Linked DNA regions of Homo sapiens: region 2 is linked to region 1. The links are contacts of gene promoters, found by promoter capture Hi-C in blood cells and fetal thymus (Javierre and others, 2016). All regions are on one chromosome and are shown on one strand. The core of a region is centred on a gene start or on the middle of the fragment in contact, and the rest is flanking DNA. Distances in the headings are between cores, read along the strand shown.

What was found. Contacts are between HindIII fragments. The CHiCAGO score rates a contact against its expected background, and 5 or more counts as called.
Region 2: a fragment that was not itself captured here is called in contact with the fragment with the promoter of PLA2G12A in region 1 in 1 of 17 cell types (fetal thymus); the score reaches 6.1 in fetal thymus.

The regions. Positions count from the first base shown.
Region 1 is chr4:109,726,512-109,732,168 of GRCh38, forward strand. It overlaps PLA2G12A (phospholipase A2 group XIIA), which reads right to left and starts at 3,559. Exons shown (of 4, transcript NM_030821.5): 1 at 3,091-3,559. The coding sequence starts at 3,298. It also overlaps a transcript of CFI not described here. RefSeq lists enhancers at 2,948-3,017, 3,677-4,553 and a silencer at 3,348-3,687. The HindIII fragment of the contact is 6,805 bases long and covers 1-3,944 here.
Region 2 is chr4:105,708,996-105,714,824 of GRCh38, forward strand. It overlaps GSTCD (glutathione S-transferase C-terminal domain containing), which reads left to right. Exons shown (of 12, transcript NM_001370181.1): 1 at 1-21. Among named protein-coding and RNA genes, the nearest start is that of GSTCD, 3.1 kb to the left of the region's middle. RefSeq lists an enhancer at 1-18. The HindIII fragment of the contact is 600 bases long and covers 1,878-2,477 here.

The DNA.
Region 1 (5,657 bases), core at 2,309-4,808:
TTTGTCTGGACTCCTGCATGCGTCACCCTGCTTCCATTTTTACTCCCCCACTCCCTTGACCCCTTCTGTTCTCAGCACAACAGCCAGAGGGATCCTAGAAAACATACGTCACTGAATTAATTAATGACTTATTCATCATTCTAAAAACATTTACAAGCCAGTTTTGTGTTCTATTTTTCAAAGGAAATCGAAAAGTTTTCTTCCTTAAATCTTCCTTGCTGTCAGGGAGAAAAAAGTTGAAGAAAATAACGGATCATCAAATTTATTTCCCTAAATACTTAACTCTCAATAAGGCCTTTTTCCTACCCAAGAGAGGATGGCCAAAACTAAGGGAGCAAGTCTCCATAATGCCAGTCCCTCAGGTAAAGCAAGGACATGTGCCCTTTATTTGACCAACCTCTCCCTACCATTAACTCACTCTTTTTTTTTTTTTTTAAAGCTCTCTTGATCTCTTTCGTGCAACTAAAAATACCCCTTAATCACCATGTTTCTCCAGATTTGGGATTGTTCTGTTTGGTTCTGATTTGGTCACCTGAATTCCAAAATATAGGAAAGGTTGAATTGTTCCAGAGAGACTGCTCGAGTAACAGCAATTTTATTATTATTATTATTATTATTATTTTTGAGACAGAGTCTTGCTCTGTCACCCAGGCTGGAGGCACGGTCTCGGCTCACTGCAACCTCCACCTCCCAGGTTCAAGCTATTCTCCTACCTCAGCCTCCCAAGTAGCTGGGACTACAGGTGTGCACCACCATGCCCAGCTAATTTTTGTATTTTTAGTAGAGACGGGGTTTCACCATGTTGGCCAGGCTGGTCTCGAACTCCTGAGCTCAACTGATCCGCCCGCCTCAGCCTCCCAAAGTGCTGGGATTACAGGCATGAGCCATTACGTCCTGCCTAATTTTTTTTTTCATTGAGATCCAATTATCTATCAGTATGGTGACTTGGACTTGAAACCACATGTCCGTTAAACGTAGAGTACTTACTAAGACAAAAAATTTTTTTTCACTGAGGCATATAACATTTCTTAAATTCTCAAATTCCTTTGTGTTTTTTTGTGCCAGAGACCTTCCTCTAAACTCCAAATAGTAAATTTTGAGAAGCCTGTAGAAGATGAAAAAGATTAAAAAGAAAGATTAAGCCAGGTGTAGTGGGGGCATGGCCTATAGTCCTAGCTATTTGGGAAGCTGAGGCAGGAGAATTGCTTGAGCCCAGGAGTTGGAGGCTGCAGGGAGCAATGATCACACCACTGCCCTCTAGCCTGGGCACAGAGGGAGACCTTGCCTCAAAAATATTAACAAAAAATAAAATAAAAAGACTAAAACAGTATTTTAACAAGGCTGGTATTCATTCAACTTCAGGCATGTTTTAAATGTAAATAAACTCTAGAACCCTAGACTAATAAATTTATGAAGACGACTCCTTCCAAGTCTTCCCTATCTCTGTAAATGGCAACCGTTTCCTTCCTTTGGCTCAGGCCAAAACCTTCAGAGTCATCCTTGACTGGCCTTTCTCCTCAGGTCCATTGCACTTGCTATTCCCTCTGTCTGGAATGCTGTTTCTCCAAATAACCACATTCCCTCCCCTTACCACGTGCAGATTTCTTCTCAAATATTCTTTCATCAGTGAGGCCTTTGCTGAACAACCCATTTAGAAGAGTAAATTGCCTCCAACATGGCCCCTCGTCTGCCCTGATCAGACTCCACACTTCCCCTAATTTTACTTATTTACTAGTTTACTGCCCATCTCTCCCTCACCAGAACTCAAGCTCCACGGACAGAGATTTTTGTCTGTTTTATTAACTGCTGAATCTCAAATTAGAACAACATCTGAAGCACAGTTGGGACTCAAATATTTGTATAATGAATAGGAATGACTAAGTAAAACTGTAACATTTGCTTTAGGAAAGGCAACTATTTGATCCTTAAATTATGCACTTAATCCTCCGAACAAGTTCTACAAGAATAAAAACATCTTCATGAAGCATACGTTTAGGTGGTAACGTTTAGGCACAAATTTAAGAAGCAATGCAACATGTCTCAGCACCTGTTCAGCGCTTTAAAGTATACAAGATACAGTTCATCCTTTACTTCTATTAACATAAAACTAGAAATTATCTTGAAAATTGCAGGCAGCATGTGGCATCATAGGTTTACATGATACCAGTTCCTTTTAAGTTCACCTATACAATCAGGTTCCAACAATGAAGTCACTGGATCCCCGATTATTTTCCGCTGCCAGCATAATGAGACTCTAACCTTGGCTAATCTTATTGGAAACATGATCTCCCAACTGCTCTCTTAACATTTTCAATTTCCAAACAAAAGTCCAATATTTTTCTGACCTATTAAAATATTTAAGCACTCAAAAATGTGCTACAAAAGAACTATCTCTGCCTGAAATACTGAGTTGATTAGTACTCATACCGCCACCAAACAAATTCTCAGGTTCAAAGAGAAAGTTCAAAAAATATTAAAAGAGTAAATGAAGATAACTGTATTAACGTTAACCAACAATGAGGAGGAGGCGGGTCACTGATATCTAAGGAAAGAAGAGTTATCGGAACCCTTTCTCAACACTCGAGTACACCAAAAGTCTGTACAAAGGTCGCAAGTTATTGTCTATGGGTTTGCAGAAAAAAAACCATTTAATATCAATTATAGAGAAAGTTAATACGGCATGGTTTTTAAATTCTCAGTTTGCTTCGCATGTTCATCCAATTTACAGAAGCAAAAATGAGCTAAAACCAGTCTGTTCCACTCTATTCCCATGATTCCTACGTCAGTAAGTTCTTCGGCAACTTGGTGCAATTGAGGGGGGGAAAAGGTAATTCAGAAGCAATGCAAATGGGACGGGGGGTACACCTCTCCGTTAGAATGTGACCTCTCACATTCTAACAATAGTGGTGCGAACTTGTACCCAGCTTGCTCAATCACTAGAACGGCAAGATTCTAGCAGTGGTTAAGTTTTTCCACAGCCGAAGGACACCGTCAAGGTCTGCCTTGCATCTGTCACTCACACCTCCAGGATCTCCGTCACCCCAATCCCCCGAAAGCACGAGCCCTCGCTGGGCCCGGGTGCCCCCTCACCGTCACTGCATTTATACTGGCAGAGACCGTCCTCGCCTCCCAGGAGGTCCAAGGCGGCGTTCAGGTACGTGTCTATCTTATGAACGCCGTTCCGGATGGTCTTCAGGGTGGCTCTCCAGTCGGTGGTCTGGGCCTGCTCCTGGCACCTGACAACAGCGGCCATGAGGAGGAGCAGGAGGGTGAGCGCGGGGCGCGAGAGCAGGGCCATGCGCGCAGCGCCGGGCTCTACGGGTCCCCGAGCCGCGGCGCGGGGCGCGTCCCCACAGAGTCCCCAGGACGCGCTAGGCAGCGGCGCGGGCCCCGGACTTGGCAGCAGCCAGCTCCATATCCACGCCTCCTTCCCGGCTGGCCCTCAGGATCTCGCTGTCTTTACGTGAACCGCCTCGGGCAGGCAGCGCCGTCGCGGGGACGCGCCCGCTCACCTGGACCAGCGCGCCCGCTCACCTGGGCCAGCAACCGTCCCCTGTGCGCCTGCGCCGGAGCACGGCGCGTCAGCGGCGCACGGGAGGGGCGGGACGCGCAGGGGTGGGGCGGGGCGGGGGCGGGGTTGGGGGGGGCGGGGAACCGGGGGAGGGGCGCGCGGGGCGGGAAACGGGGGCGGGGCCTCCATGCCCACGTGGTCTCCGCGGCACCCTCCCAAGACCCTTGGTCCTGGTTCACAAGAGAACCTTAAAAAGTACCCAGGCCTGAGCCCCTTTTCTAGGGAGCCTGATTACGTTGTCCCAGGTGGCAGTGGGCGTCGGTATTTTTTAAGAAAGCTCTCCGGGCTGTTAACCGTGAAGCAAGAGTTGCAGAGCTAACCCCGGTGGCCTAACCTGACCAGTCGGGGCTCAGCACAGTAGCCCCGAGAGACAAGCTTTTCTGGGTGTGGACAACATCGGAGAAAATAACCCCTGTGCCCCCTCGCAGAGAGCGCTGCGAGAGGTCCAGCTGAGTTTCCGGCTTGAAGACGTGGTTCCATTGGCAATGTGGGCAGAGTCCGGCTGTCAGCTCGCAGAGCAGGGCTTTTCCTCCTTGCGTCCTCTCCCGGTCCTCCAGATCTGCTGTGGCCGCGGTTGGGGGAGCGGGATCTGGAAGATGCCAACCCATGCCTTGGCGGTGCCTGACTCTAATCAGGACGAGCTAAATGCTAGTTTAGACTTTCCGGAAAAAGAAAATGGGCCAACATAAAAATCATAAAATTCTCCCCTGGTAAGGAAGAAACAGTAGTGTAAACTTAAATACAGTAAAAAGTAAAATAAATCTTAAGGAAGTCATTGTTTTTCTACTCAAGGGATTTTGTAACTTGATAGTTACAGTGACGTTTGTTTCTCTGTACCTACCACCCTGCCCCCAGCATTGTGCGGGATCCATAAATAACTATTGCAGTAGTACTTTGTATCAGTTGTAAATATCTGGTTATCTTAGTATCACAGCAGTTTCCAAGAATTTTACAGTAAGATCCAGAGCAATGTTGAAAGTATTGGGCAGACCAAGCGCGGTGGTTTACGCCTGTAATCCCAGCACCTTGGGAGGCCTGGAACTCCTGAGGTCAGAAGTTCGAGACCAGCCTGGCTGACATGGTGAAACCCCATCTCTACCAAAAATACAGAAAATTAGCTGGGCGTGGTGGCGGGCACCTGTAATCCCAGCTACTCGGGAGGCGGAGGCAGGAGAATCACTTGAACCCAGGAGGTGGATGGATGTTGCAGTGAGCTGAGATTGCACCACTGCACTCCAGCTTGGGGCACAGAGCGAGACTCTAAAAAAAAAAGAAAGTGAGTAAGTATTGGGCATAGGTGTGTCCTTTCTATAAGAATTACCAATAAGTTCTAGGTTTGGCCTTTTGTGTTTGTTACAAACTAAATGAGCTTATAATAAACGTTCAGTGCACAGTTCATAAAAATTACATCCCTCTTTATTGAGTGCTTACTATGTGCCAGGCACTTCATGAATATGATCGCTCACATTCAGAACACTACTTTACAAGGATGCAGACTTTGGGCAAGTTAGAAACATAGAAAGGCATTCCTCCCTACAAACAGGGTAGCCCAACAAACGGTGTAGCTCCTGGCTGGAGACTGCCTGCACTTCACTCAGCCCCTCAACCAGGAGTCTTGGGCAGTGATTAATTCCTACCACAATGGAGAAGGGGGAAGAATGTTCCCTGGAAGGTATTATTATCTTCCTCTTTTACAATAAAAGAGTCGAGGTGAGAAGTCATGTGACAGTATCTACTCCAAACCAAGGCCTCTGTCTTCACAAAATACCACAGATATTTTTATTTTTTAATTTTTAGACAACACATTTCAATACATTTTAAAAAGGGAACTTAGAATCATTGTCTTAGCTTTCTGGAACATTGGTTTCTCAGCTCCAAAGTATGAAAGTTGGACTAGATTACCTCTGAGATACCACCACCTGAATCCTTAAACCAGGCTTGGTTCTTACAACTCCCTAGTCCAGGGACAAGACTTTCAAAAGAAAGGATAGAATGTAATAAAATAACCTAGTTCCAGCCCTCAGTTATGACCCAAAGCCTCTCCTTTCCCCCACTTTCTCTATTTATTTACTTCTTTGTGATCTCA
Region 2 (5,829 bases), core at 928-3,427, 4.0 Mb before region 1:
TGGCCGCGCCTCTGCGACCAGGTAAAGAGGGCGCTCGGGCCGCCGGCTTCTCAGCCTCCGCGACCCCCTAAGAACTGGTCTTTTCTTCGGGGGTCTGCAGGGCTGAGGATGCGGGGGAAGGGTGGGAAGGACAAGGGCGTGGTATCATCGTCCTGATTTTTCTCCCGCCCTGGGGCCGCCTCAAACTCCTTTTTGGCCACTCCTGCTGAAGGTGCGGGTTGAGGGCTCTGGGCTTCTCGGTAGTACGCGTTTCCCAGTTTCCCCCTAGCCAGTCCCTCATGTCTTCCTCTGCTGATGGAGAAATGGGGCAGCTTCCAGTTGGAGGCGTTGGTTGGGGTGGTTTGATATTTGCTGTTAAGTGTTACTTCAAGACCTCTTGGGTCACACTAACTTCTCTTCTCTCTTTGGCATTGAGTTTTCCATTCCAGCCCTTCCTGATTGCAGAAAGCAGTTCTATGTGAATACTACTTAACATTTACTCCAAAGGACTTGCTTCATTTGGGGCCATTTGCTTATGTTTTGTCATCACAGCAGTATCTCTTGGGTTTTTAACTTCTATAGAAAGTTTAATTTGCATGAAAGTTGCTTTGGTTTCAAAAACGTTTGCTAATACACGTACTTCCCATCCCAACTTTCTACCTGGTTTTGGGATGAGATGACTTGTTTTTTTCCCCTTTATTCTTAATGCCAGGATCCCATTCCTTGTCATAAATTCTTGAATATCAAGAAAATGCCAGCTTTAGTAATATATTGTGTGCTACATTATTGATAAAGAAGGTGGTGTATTTCTATTTTACCTAAGCTTATCTGTAAAAACAATGTTTACAGGAGAAAATGCAAAAGCTAGCAAGAACTAGTGATGTGATAATTTTAAACATGTAAACATAGTCATTTAAATCCATGATAATAAACTGTTATAACACAACTAAGTGATTCGCTGTCATATTTAATAAACATTAAGCTATGCGGGTTTTTTTTTCTTTTTTTTTAACTGCCTGATGGGGAGCATACACCACTGAGAGGATTGCTTTAAGCACACTCATTACTAAAAATTGTGTTTGTATTACACCTGAAAGTATCGTTTTGTGAGGTCTCACTTCAAAAATAAGACTGAAAAGGTCAATGAGATTTGAGAATCATCATTTCTTTTTATTTTATATACTTTGCACTTCTACGTGTTTTTGCTTTAATTTAAACACAGCTCAAACTTGAGCTTCTGTAGTAGTGGGCCCATCAATTTTTTTTTTTTTTTTTTTTTTTGAGCTGGAGTCCTGCTCTGTCGCCTGGGGATGGATTGCAATGGCAACATCCGCCTCCCGGGCTCAAGCAATTCTCCTGCCTCAGCCTCCCGAGTAGTTGGGATTACAGGCGCCCACAATCACACTCGGCTCCTTTTTTTTTTTTTTTTTTTTCAGTCGAGGAGGGGTTTCACCATGTTGGCCAGGCTGGTCTCAAACTCCTGACCTCAAATGATCCGCCCGCCTCGGCTTCCCAAAGTGGTGGGATTACAGGCGTGAGCCACCGCGCCCGGCCTGTTTTTGTTTTTTTAAACTTGTTTTACTTGTAGCTTTTGTTTCATCATCTGTGATTTTTAAATAAAAATAAATACTGAGTATCCAATTAGCTTTTCTAACAAAGAATAAATACTTGGAATGCAGATATTGAAACCATTTAGATTAAAACAAGCACAGGTATTGTTTGCTGTGAAAATTCAGTAATTTTATTTCATACTTGGTAACATGTTAGCCATTTGCGCTGTCGATCACTGTTAATTATGAGGTCGGGTTTAGCTGAAGGCATTATGACTCCATGGCAACAGATGATTCCCTGATTCTCCAGAGAGATTACACACTTCGTTTGTGGCTAAGGTTACTGTAAGCTTTTCACTTAAAAACTTTTCCTACTTCTTTACCAGATAAGAAAACAGCTAATTTTAATCACTGGCTTTTGTTCTCTAGGACTTAACTGCATCCCATATTACGTATTTAATGAGCTTGAAAAAATCTCAGTGTTTTTCTTATCGTTTTTGACCCTAAATATTTAAGGTAATTGGCTGCTATCTATCTGTTGAGGGGCATGTTTTTTTGTTTTGTTTTGTTTTGGTTAAATCTATATTATTGTAATAAAATAGGGTACAATTTTCAGCCAAATACTGTTGTTTTATGAAAAGCATAAAACACAAGATAAGTTATAAAATTCAAAATGTTGAACATATGATGTAGGAGAGAATTTAGGCAGGTTTAAATTTTAATCTTTAAGAAAAGTAAGTGTTTGTGATTTTTCATACTTATAAACTGTGTTGAACTTCTTATTTTGTACAATAGGTTGATATGCACATGGATTAAGGGTTTCACGTTTATATTTTACCATTTCATGATTCCCTGGCTTTCAGCCTCAGTAACAAATATGTTTTTTTTCAGTATTTGGTTGGGAAAAACTTTTCAATCAATATAAATCCTTTACCTTTCATGGAAAGAAGCTTGAAAATATAAACCATAATTTGGGTTTTGCCCATCAAGGTTTGCATATTTTAATAGTGCCAGTTGATAAGGAATTTGGTTATAAATTATAAAGAAATAATAGTAGCTAGTATTTATTTAAGGACTTAATATGTGACAAGCTTTTTTCTGTATGGCACACTACATGGTAGGTACAGTTATTATTGTCTCCATTTTATTATATAAGTGAGGAAACAGATATGCAGAAAAGTTTTTTATAGCTACTAAGAATCAGAACCAGTATATTTGCACCCAGGTGGTCTGGCTCAACAGTCTCGGCTCTAATCTATTACTTTATAATTCTTGTTTTATAAATATTCTTGCTAGGCACATGTATGGAATCTAGTTAAGATTCTTAGTTCCTTTGCCCTGGATATAAGTATACATAAAAACTTCTGTGCTTGCTTTATTTATGAGTTTGGTTAGATTCCATTTATACTTTTCCCGATTCACCTCACAAAGGTGATCTTATTTCTTCATTTTAATTTATACTTAGTTGGTCCTTAAAATAGAGTTATTAATTTGGAAAAGAAAGAATGGTGTCATGAAGAATGAGATACACATTGTACCAAGACTAAAGTTATTAATAATACTCTCAGACAGTGATTTCTGACATTCATATATGTACATTCATTCCTTGAACTAAAGTTTCAGTTCATTAAGCACTGGAGATGTTATAGTGTTAGGTGATAAGAGCTATGAAGAAAAAGGGAAGCTAGGTAAGAGGCTAGGGTGTGCTTTTTCAATTCAGGCAGTCAGGAGAGGCTGTTCTGAGTTAATATTTATGCAGAAAAATCAATGAAATGAGGGAGCAAGCCCTGTGAATCTCTTGGAGAAAAGCATTCTAGGCAAAGCAATAGCAAGTACAAATATTCTCAAGTGGCACCTTCCAAAAACAGCAAGGACAGCTATGGCTGGAAGGGAGTGAAGAAGGATAAGAGATGAGGTCAGAAAGGGATAGCTAGGGTCACAGTAGGCCTATAGGCCATAATAGGAAATTTGGATTTTATTTTGAGTGTGCTGAAGAGCCATTGGATGGTTTTGAGCACGAGACATCTGATTTATGTTTTTAAGGATCACCCTGTTGTTGGAGAATGGACTGTTTTATGGAAAGTGGAGGAAAATAGTTAATAGGCTTTTGCAGTAGTCCTTGTAAGCACTGGCGATGACTTAGATTAAGGTGGTAGTGGTAGAGGTGCTGAGGAGTTGGATTTAGCATATACTTCAAAGGTAGAGATGGCAGGGTATGAGAGAGAGAAAAAAAGAAGTTGAGTGGGACTTTTGAGTTTTTGGCCTAAGCATCTGGGTAATTGGTGTTGCCATTTTACCAGGAAGTAGAACACGAAGGGAAGGGGAGCAGGTTTAGAAAAACATCCACATGGAGATGTCAAGTAGAATATAGTAGTCTGGAGTTAGAGGAGAAGATACGGCTGGGATATACATGTAAGAGTCAGATCATATTTAAAGCTATGGCACTGGAGATCACCCAGAACAGTGCTGTCATATTGTGAGTTGTGCCCCATTAATGAGTCAGGAAATCAATGTAATGAGTAACAACCAGCATTTAAAAAAACAAGCACAGAGTAAAAAATATCAGATTTATCCCATATTGTAGGATAAGTATTGCTTCATGACATTTTTGTTTCTATTTTATTCAGTGTATTGTGTGTTACATTATAAAATATATACCTAATTGTGTGGCATGCTCAAAAGTTTGAAAGCCAGTATTCGAAGGATGGAGTGTGGATTGAGCAGAGAGCAAAACACTGAGCTGTGGGTCACTGAGACATCTGCAGAGTAGCCAATGAAAGGAATCAGGAAAGAATTGCCAAAGAATTTAATCCAGTGCAGAAACTTGTCAAATAACCCAGCCTTTGGAATGGAAGTTTATATCAAGGATTACTGAAACCAGCATACTTGCTTAGAATAACATAATATCTGACAATTTTCACTTTGGTAAAATTGCTTCAATTTATGAAATTTTATTTATAAATAGTACTGTTATATTAGAACAATACCTATTCTTAAATGTCTCTAAATAAGATCTTTTATGAATTTAATTAATACTTTTGGACTGATGTACAATTCTCATCTCTATAATGGAAATAAAATACTTTTAAGGATTGTGAGCATTAGAAGTAATGCACATGTTCTGTGTGCTTAGCACATAGTAGGTGGACAATAAAATGTATGTAATATTTAAAACTTTATTTACCTAACATTTGTTGAGCTCCTATCAAATTGTAGTCACAAAGATAACTTATTTGAAAAAACAAAAAACAAAACACAGGTTAATCATTTGCAGCAGTTATGCACTTTTTGGTCTTCATTATATAATATATAATTTATCTAATATATAATGTTATGTATACATAATGCCATAGATCTTGACTTGAATTTTGATCACAAAATTTTCAAGCTTTATTTTTTCTGGACTGTGGAGAAGTATGCTTGTTTTTAATATGTTTACTGTTTATCTCTCATTCTCTGTGTTTTATCAAGGCTAAGATATATTCATTAGAATGAAAGTGAAAAAAAAAAACCAGATCTGAATGCCTAAATATTAAACCTATGACTAATTCCACCATTTAAAAATATATTAGAACATTCCTGAGTAATGAAATCAAAGACATAATCTTTTCTTTTTACCCATTTATTCATTCGGCAAGATTCCCAAGCAAATTGGCACGTCCAGGAAAGAGATGCACACTCTATTTAATATCCTGAAGTTTGTGGTTTTGTCTGCTACTTTCTCACTCCCTCTCTGCAGAGTGGCACCTGTCAAAGCTGAGAAAGAGTAAATTACTCTATTTCTGTGCTTGGCAGGAATGTAATATGGAGTAACAAGAGCTGTGCCGCAGAAGCCCTGGAGACAGAAGTTGATTCTATAGTACCTACCTTCTTAAAGCTCGTGACAGAAAATTAGCGAACTAAGGCATTCTGAAGCTAGAAAAGAAAAAAGAGGAAGGATTTTTTTTTTTTTGCCTGTGATATTTGCATACTTGGAGCAAATACTGGTTCTACTCTCTAAAAAGGCACAGTGCAAGCCAAAAACATCACATTTGTACAGGTTTACAAATATTTAATATTTATTTTAAAAATTATATTAGTACATAATAGGGAGACATTATTCAAGGAGAGTAATTTTTTTTTTTATTCTAAGATCATTAAGTAACATTTTTAATCTCCCAGGGGGAAAACCAACATCTATATTAAAAAAAATACGTTAAGAATCAACAGTACTTTGTTGCATTTTCTCTCAGGCATCTCATTAATTTTTAGATATCACCATGGGCAGGTTATTGCTATTCTGTTTTGCTGACATTTAGCA